Regions from separate parts of the Homo sapiens genome. Here region 1 is linked to region 2. Evidence: promoter capture Hi-C in 16 types of primary human blood cells and fetal thymus (Javierre and others, 2016). All regions are on one chromosome and are shown on one strand. The core of a region is centred on a gene start or on the middle of the fragment in contact, and the rest is flanking DNA. Distances in the headings are between cores, read along the strand shown. Region 1 overlaps TFDP2 (transcription factor Dp-2). Region 2 holds the start of CEP70 (centrosomal protein 70).

Region 1 (4,720 bases), core at 1,282-3,781, 3.4 Mb after region 2:
TTACATGTGGAGTGACCAACTTTTTTTTAAGCCTGTCTATTCCATCAAAATTTCTGTTCTTTGATCAGAATTGTAAAAAAAGTTCTTTAGGCAAATCTATAGTTTGTAAATCCATTTTAAAGTCCATGTAAATTGTTTTACTTATTTTAGAGAGAAAAAACCTCAACCATTACATGTTGCTATTCCTTAAGATAAGCAAAATGTACATAGATAAGTTTTAGAATCTGAATCTTAATTGAAATAATGATTCAATAAACTTCAAAGGCCAGGCGTGTGGGCGCATGCCTGTAATCCCAGCTACTTGGGGGGCTGAGGAAGGAGAATCGCTTGAACCCAGGAGGCAGAGGTTGCAGTGAGCCGAGATCACACCATTGCACTCCAGCCTGGGCAACAAGAGCGAAACTCCATCTCAAAAAACAAACAAACTTCAAAATCTCTAAATTTGGTCATCATTATTTGAAGAAAAGAAAATCTTCTGGCCGGCGCAGTGGCTCACGCCCATAATCCCAGCACTCTGGGAGGCCGAGGTAGGCGGATCTCAAGGTCGGGAGATCGAGACCATCAGGCCGAGGTGGGCAGATCACGAGGTCAGGAGATTGAGACCATCCTGGCTAACATGATGAAACCCCATCTCTACTAAAAATACAAAAAATTAGCTGAGCGTGGTGGTGGACGCCTGTAGTCCCAGCTACTGGGGAGGCTGAGGCAGGTGAATGGTGTGAACCTGGGACGCAGAGCTTGCAGCGAGATTCCGTCTCAAAAAAACAAAAAAACAACAAAAAAAAACAACAAAAAAATAACTTCAGGTAAGCCCACAGATCTTAGCTAACAGCAAGAGGAATTTTTAATAATCTGCTTGAATGTTGATATCTTTTCCAGCCTTCTCTCTCCTTAGGCCAATTATTTAGAAAACTGTATAATAATTAATCCATATGCAAATTTTAAACTATAGCTCAAAAACTTTATTGGCTACTGTAAATTACTACGAATTTTCCAGTGTAGGGTATGGCAAATATTGAATAAGTGCCTCATATGTGAAAGAGCTGGTGCTCAGCACTGATTTTTCAAGAGCAAACTTAAGAAATGAATAAAGTTGTAATGTGTATACACGCACATTATACAACAGCATAGGACTTCTTTGTGTTACTTGTAAAAGGAAAGGTTTTCACTTTCCTCATTATGAATTCCAAAAATTCAAAAACTGTTTTTCAAAATTTTGACTGCTTTCATTACACGCATAATGCTTCCACACTCTTCATTCCTACTCTTTTCAGCAGATAAACATTCTCCTCTTTCCATTAGCAACCAATCCAAGCTTATTATCTTTCTTTTTAGAGGCAAACTGCAACATATCATTTCAATTAAACCCAAAATATTACTCCCATATTTCTTATGCAAAGGTCTTAGGAATAAGCCTCAGCTTCTCACAGAAGATGAAATCATCTATCAACATATGTAACTGATGTTTCTCATTTTATTTTCATTTTGAGATTTTGTACCTACTGTCTAGTGATAAACTTTTGCAACTGTTTCCTCTATATTTTAGATGGCTTAGGCTTTAAAAAAATGGTCTATATGATTTAATTATCAATTTTTTCCTTAAGTGAAGTTCAACAGAATTAATTTTCTCACATTTTCATTAATTATACAGGCTACAGGCAATATTTAAAGTTTTTTTTTAAATATTGGGTATGTTACTCATTTTGTTACTCTATGACTTTCAATTCCTGAATATAAAATAATAAATTTTAAATGACTAAATTTTATTTATTCACTGATTAAATCAGATTTATGACCTCCTCTCTCCATTCCAGCTACTCTGAGTTTTGAATGAAACAACCTCAATTGTAACAGAAGAAACATCTGTTGCTTTTTTTCTTCACCAGGGCTTTCCTAACTGAAAGAAGAAAGACTCTCTGCCTGACCTCCTCTCCCTCTCCCTCTCCCTCTCCCACTCCCGCTCCCCACCCACACTAAGTTCCTTAAAACTTTTTTAAGTAAATGTATTATTTAAAATTTCACTGTATCTATTAAAAACATCATAGTTTAGAAACATTCACTTCCTTATTGAACTTCAAAGAATGACTAAATGCTATTATATATCAAAAAATAAGACGTGTCTAATAGAATATACGTTGTAACTAAAATGCAAACTTCAAGGGTATAATTGAAATGATCAATTCAATCAAGTTGTCATATATTCCGGGGTCATTAAGAATTGTTTAGGGGTAAGATTTTCTTCACAGTATCCAGATTCATATAGCATCTTGTATGCTATATTTTCTTTGCCAGTCCAAGGCTAACATAATGGCAGTCACTACCCCAAGAGGCAGACACCAAATGGTGCCACCCACACTCTCACACTGTGCCTCATAATAAACCATAAAGCAGTGGAATGCACCGGCCCCTTTATGAGCAAACAATGCCTAAGCTTCATTAGAATACAGCTGACATTTTCAAAGCACAAATACTTTTAAGAAAAATGTACTAGGGAAAAAAAGGAATGAAACAGCTATAAAAGCTGAAATATTTTTCAAGTGTCAGGTTGATTTCCAAGGATCCTTGGGAAGTATATTTTGCTGTTGGCAATTTAAAAGTTTTCGTAAGTGGAAAAAATGTTTAGTTAAGGGCAAAGCTTATTTTATTAACTACTGGGGAAAAAAATGAAAGTAAAAACTATCCTTTGAATTGCTTTCACAAGTAATAACCATGAAGTACCTTTAAAATTACTGATTTCCTCAACTGCTGCTTTAGTTCCTGAATTAAGAAAACTGAGCTCCAGAATTATTTTCACATTTTAATTAATTTATATAAGTAACTGAGTAATAAACTAATTCTTCCCCTCCCCCCCCACCCCAACCCCCATACATAACCCTGTAGTTTTTCTGTCTGCAACAAGCAAGGACGTCTTGAAATCAGCGTGCTCCTGGCTATTTATCAATTTAATATTGCTGCTGCTTAAAGAATATAAAATAAGAGCTGTAAAAACTCACCCAGCAGTGAGAAACAAACTGATCTCTCTTACCTGGTCTAAGGAAGCATGCCTCTCACTGCAGTACCAACAACATTCTACAGTCTTTGTTACCATTCAGTGGAAACTTGAGACTGTGTCAGACGTAAGCAATCGAGCTCAGAAAAGCTCAATTTAAAATACTTCTCAGTAAAACTAAAAAGATGCTCAAGAAAACTGTTTAGTTAACTGGCTTTCAAAAGACATATGAATACTGTTTACAACAAAGACATCTCAAAAGAAATTGAAAAGTGCAGGTCTTAGATGAAGGGGCTTTTCTATGTAGAACCTTGTTTTCTTATTAAATTAAAAGGATATTTTTATTTTAAAAAATGCTTAAAGTACACACTTGATCTTAGCCAAAAGGCCGAGAAGCAATAAAAATGCTTAAAGTAAAAAGGGTGAAATAACTACAAGTTAACATTTTTCTAAATATCACTTGCCTTTTAACTAACTTAAAAAATAAGATTAAACTTACTCGTGAAACCTGCATAATTTGAATTATACATATCAGAGTATCTGCTGGCTCCAAAGCAGTCACAAAGCAGGAGACTTAATGCATCTTGAAAGCAGAGCAAAAGCACCACGAGTTTCAGGGGGAAAAGAGGAGGAGAAACTCTTGAAAAACTGGTCGGGGCTTTTTGAACCTGTAATAACTGTCCAGCTCTTGTGGGAGGAAAAAAATGTCCCAGTCCTGCCCCGAGATAGGAGGCTATGCTTCAATGCCAAAATGAATGACAGGCCCATTTCTGATATCAACAAAGAGCAGCTTAGTTGTGCTTTTTTTTTTTTTCCACTTTCCCACACAGAAGTTCTAAAATTTCCAGGTTAGTCCCTTTATAGCTAGGGTTAAGTACCTTTCTCCATTTTCTCAAGAGGGAACTCAATTATGTTGTCCTGGTTTTTTTTTAAATGACTAATTAAATATACATACCTAATCATCTTACTTAGTTTTCCTAGGCAGGAAGCTGAACAAAAGATGACCTCTTAGGTTCCTTTCCAAATCTATTCTTTTCAATATCAGATAACCATATGACTGTCAATATTAATAAGCTTTTCCAGCATCCTGATGTATGGCACAAGTAGAAACAAAAAGCAAGGTAACATTAAAAACAAAGCAACTGAGATAAAATTTTCAACTAGCAAGATGTAAAGATAATTTACCAAGGTATGTGTTTGATTACAGAAATTCAAAACAAACACTCCAATCAACAACATATATTTGCTGAATACTTATTATGAGCCGAGCACTATTTTGGGCCCTGGAGATACAGTAGTGAATGCAACAGACAAAAGCCAAACAAAAAATCTCTGTCTTTCGTGAGCTTAGTTTATTTCAGTTCACTCTAAGTACAACTCTCCTAGATGACTAAGGTACTTTTCCTTCGTTGACTAGTTATCACCTATTCTGAAATATTCCCCTTGGAAAGTATGTCTTGACAACAGCTCCAGGAGACGCTGTAAAGTATTTGGTGCTCCGTTCAGTGTTGTATCACCAGTGTCTAAAACAGTGTCTGTTAGACACTCAAATACATATTGAATCAAATAGATCAGAGAGCTTCTTCTTACTCAAAATTTTCCTTTGCCAACACATATTATACTTACATGCATACAGAGATATGACAACAATAATACAATACAGGGTGTAAATTAAACTGGGTTGTAAACACGTGTTAGTATAAACAAAACTGAAAATACAACCTATATGGC
Region 2 (4,634 bases), core at 184-2,683:
TCTGTAAGCATCTTCAAAAGTATATACTTCAAATTACTGCAATAAATGAACATGTAACCCTTTCGAAGTCTCTATTCCTTATTAAATGCAAAAGCTCTATTCTAAAAATATTGCAACTTGCTGTTTAATGTTCCTAAGAAAGAGCTGAACTTACCCCAAATAGGAAAGAGTTAAAATGGAATGTCATCTCAACCAAATCATTCTGTCTCAGGAGAGGTGACATGAAGGGGCAGAACCTTGCTTTGAAGCAAAAGCTGTAGGGAAAACTCCAAGTCAGCCACCTCTTCCCCAAAAGGCGGGGCAGGGGAGGCCAGAGTCTACTTGGCAATATTTAAAGTACAAAACTCATGCAGAGGCTTGAAACCAATATGGGTAATGCCTGCACAGAGTTTAATATATTATACATATATTTTTGAGACAGAGTCTCGCTCCGTCACCCAGGCTGGAGTGCAGTGGCGCGATCTCGGCTCACAGCAACCTCCGCCTCCCGAGTTCAAGCGATTCTGCTGCCTCACCCGCCCGAGTAGCTGGGATTACAGGCGCACACCACCATGCCCAGCTAATTTTTGTATTTTTAGTAGAGACGTGGTTTCATCATGTTGGCCAGGGTGGTCTCGAACTCCTGACCTCAGGGGATCCGCCCACCTCGGCCTCCCAAAGTGCTGAGATTACAGGCGTAAGCCACTGCGCCCTGCCTGTTTAATATCATTGATTGAAAAACAAAGTGGCAGTAAAAAAGGAAACTCTGATTGGTCTCTCTGTTACAGGTGACTTAGCCTTCTGGCATTTTTCACCTTGAAAAACTCCTATTAGGCCCTGTATAAAGTCAGAGGTCTCCTGAATCCGGAATGAGGTTAATAAACTGGAGAAAGAGATACTCACCTGTGCTATTCGCCTAACCGCCCCCTTCTGCTCCGAGTCCTCACTCCCCAAACAACCTTCGCGGTTGTTTGACACAAAACTAGCGCTTCAGCCCGGGTCGATTTTGGGGGATGGAGTAATTACCTACAGCTTAAATCGAGTCTGTGCCCGACGTGATTCTAAGCTTTACTCTTACTGCCTCATTTAACCCTCACAACCACCTTGTAAGGCAAGAATTACCAGCTTTAGTATACAAATAAAGAATCGGAGGCGCTGAGACATTAAAGGAGAAGCCAAAGAACACAAAGCCTGGGGAGCTGGGACTGGAGGCAGTTTTGTCCGATCCCCAAACCCTTACGCAGGGATTTTTAATTGGCGCGACCCTGTCCCAGATGGCTCCTCCCCGACAAGGGTCAGTCTGACCACTTTTAGGCCCAGGTGAGGTCAAGTCCGGGGTACTCCGGGAAGGGGCTCACGCCGACGCCTCTGAGAGCCCCGAGAGCCACTCACCTTACTCAGTCGCCGGCCTCCCACCAGCAGCCAGCCGGGCCAGGTTAGGCTGGGATCAGCTACGTCAGGCCCCGCCTCCGCGACCGTTACCACCGCCGGGGGAGGGCGGCCAATCGAGCCCGAGCGCGTCGAGGGCCAGCCCCTCTTTGGCCTGCGAATGCCCCCAAACGATTCTCTCCAGCCTCTCCGGGAAGCTGGGTCCGCCCCGCTCCCTCCGGTTGGCTCACTACGGGGGGCGGGGCTTACCGCAAACGAAGGCGTCGGTGCGATGTGCTGGTCTCGGGCACGCTGGCGCTTCCAACGCACTCCTTGGGTGCCCTGTCACTTACATGGAGGCTTATTTGCCCGGAAGACGTCAGAAATACTTGTGGCCGTGGGTGAAAGTGAAGCCTGGGTTACCTGGCCACCAGAGACTGCCCTCTCTCTCGCCCCCTACCCCGCCGCGACTACGAGCCCTTGCTGGGGTACGGGTCAGCATGTTCTCGATGTTCCAGACCTGAATGACCACTGTAGCAGCTGACATTTGGAGGACCCCAATAAATATTTGTTGACGACAGTTCATCTTCCCATTCAGCATTTTCCACATCTCGACGAAGCGTCAGGCCCTACCTGAGGCTGTAGCTGTCCACCATTGTCATTGTATCTTATAGCCACATGGTGTCGCTGTTGACAACTTGTCTTTTCAAATCAGTCAAATGATGTAGGTCTGTGTTACAGTCAAATGTTGCAACAGACTGTGTTGCAGTCAAATGATGCAGGTCCCACAGTAGCCAACAGGGATGTCCCATCTAGGGCATCAGCCAAGGGTCTCTCATCAGGAGATCCAAGGGCTCTTGGAGCTCAATACTTTCAGACCCTTCTTAGCCTTCTTCCAGGCAGCTGGGACTACACTTAGGTTTGATCTCTGTGTTTGCCCCATGCAAACATGTCCCTACCCCAACCTACGCCTACCCACTGTGCTTTCCATACCTGGATATTCACTCTAACGACGGTTAGCAGATTGCATTTTCAGTTCTCAAAATGCAAATAGTCTCAGTGCTTCCCTTTTCCAAGATAATAGGGTGCCCTTGCATACTCTTCTGAGAATGGCTGCCCTAATTGTAGAGGCCAAACATCTTTGAGTCAGTTATTATTATTTTGGATGCACGTGATATAGAATCTGAGTTAAACTGTCTTCCTAAAAAATAAAGAAGTTGCTTATCTCGCATAACAGAAAGCTCAGAGGCAAGGGAGACTTTGATTAATTCAGTGGCTAAGCAAGTTAACAAGGACCCAGTTGCTATTAGTCTCTGCTTTGTTGTAAAAAAAAAAAAGGGTAGACTTCAAATTCATACTAACGTGATTTTCCAGATGTCTACTTGGAGAAATCAGGACCACATACTTTCTTTTTCATCTAAAACCTTTCCTTCTGGTTTTTTGAGCCAATAAGTTCACACAGGCACACACTCTTCCTCTTTACCAGTAACTGCCTGGGAAATGTACAGACAGCTTAAGCCTGGGTTCCAGAAGTGAAAAGGAGCTATGACAATTGGAATTGGCAATGGTGTCAGTGCTCTTTGAGTCACATGAGTTGCAAGGTGGAGACATGGCTATTTGAATAAAACTGGAGACCTGTAAAGGAGAAGAGGAAAATGGATGCTAGATGGATGATCACCAGTATCTTTCACAGTCTTCAAAGCACAAGAAGGCTGATTCCTCTCTATTTTCTAACTGAATTTTTTATGTGGTGAATGGAGGGGAAGAGTTGCTATAGCACTGCCCTCCAAAACAATTCCCTTCTTATGGACCATGAAAGCCTTTCCAGCACCTCTCTTTGCTAGAGAAGGAAAACATCCCTGCACACAAACTTAGTCTTTCACTGAGAATCCTGCTACATTGGTCTCAAGAGTTTTCTATGGGCCTCATCTACCCAATAGAATTCTAATAATTCTAAACATTCATTTAACATTCATTCATTTATAAAAATGTGTTGGCCGGGCACAGTGGCTCACGCCTGTAATCCCAGCACTTTGGGAGGCCAAGGTAGGTGGATCACCTGAGGTCAGGAGTTCGACAACAGCCTAGCCAACATGGGGAAACCCCATCTCTACTAAAAATACAAAATTGGCCGGGTGTGGTGGCACATGCCTGTAATCCCAGCTACTTAGGAGGCTGAGGCAGGAGAATCGCTTGAACCCGGGAGGCGGAGGTTGCGGTGAGCCGAGATCTCACCATTGCACTCTAGCCTGGGCAACAAGAGCAAAACTCCGTCTCAAAAAAAAAAAAATTTTTTTGTTAAGCACCTGTTTTGTACCAGGGATTGAACTAGATGCTGAGTCAGATTTATAAGTGGGGGAGTTTACAATAGTAAGTAAGCCCAGTTGTGATTCCTGCCTTCGTGGATCTTATAGTCTAACTGCGGAGAAAATATGAAACAAATGCAATTAAGTATATATTATTAATATAATAAGTGATATCAAAGAAGAGAAGAGGGGCTATGGAGGAAGCCTCTCTGATGAAGTGACACTTAAGTTGAAAGCCAAGCATGTCTTCATTTCGGCTTTCTGCTTTCCTCTGTACTTTGGCTTCCTAGCATAAATTATAACTTTCATTAGCAGTTAAAACACATCTTTTATTTCTCAACTTCTTTTTTTTTTTTTTGAGACGGGAGTCTCGCTCTTGCCCAGGCTATAGTGCAGTGGCGTGATCGTGGCTCACTGCAAGCTCCACCCCCCAGTTCACGCCATTCTCCTGCCTCAGCCTCCCGAGTAGCTGTGACTACAGGCGCCTGCCACCACGCCTGGCTAATTTTTTTTTTTTTTTGGTATTTTTAGGGGTTTCACTGTGTTAGCCAGGATGGTATCAATCTCTTGACCTTGTGATCCACCTGCTTCGGCCTCCCAAAGTGCTGGGATTACAGGCGTGAGCCACTGCACCCGGCCTAATTTCTCAACTTCTAAACTGATTCTCAAATTTTCTTCTGGGTATAGAACTGTCATATTTCTCCCTAGAAAAACATGAGTATATCATATGTAATGGTAATCATGATGAATTCTCAAAGATTCTTCAACTCATAAGTTTTTTAGACTTAGATTCCTTTATTACATGAATACATTTGTTTCTGCCTTTTCCACAAGAATTTGAACCCCTGGGAACATGAACCATGTCTTACTAAACTTCATCCTGCAGCTAGCATATTTCCTTGGTGCACAGTAGGTGCTAAACACAGCTTTGAACTGTAGCAGGACTAACCACAGACAAAACCTCTCAGACGCTGAGTTGTA

What was found. Contacts are between HindIII fragments. The CHiCAGO score rates a contact against its expected background, and 5 or more counts as called.
Region 1: a contact is called between a fragment that was not itself captured here and the fragment with the promoter of CEP70 in region 2, in 1 of 17 cell types (total B cells). The highest score is 9.3, in total B cells.

Annotation. Positions count from the first base shown.
Region 1 is chr3:142,025,554-142,030,273 of GRCh38, forward strand. All of the region lies in intron 3 of TFDP2 (transcription factor Dp-2), which reads right to left. Among named protein-coding and RNA genes, the nearest start is that of TFDP2, 120 kb to the right of the region's middle. RefSeq lists a silencer at 2,387-2,436 and enhancers at 2,823-3,324, 3,731-3,780. The HindIII fragment of the contact is 204 bases long and covers 2,430-2,633 here.
Region 2 is chr3:138,592,827-138,597,460 of GRCh38, forward strand. CEP70 (centrosomal protein 70) reads right to left here and starts at 1,434. Exons shown (of 18, transcript NM_024491.4): 1 at 1,372-1,434. RefSeq lists an enhancer at 1,639-1,698. The HindIII fragment of the contact is 6,508 bases long and covers 1,044-4,634 here.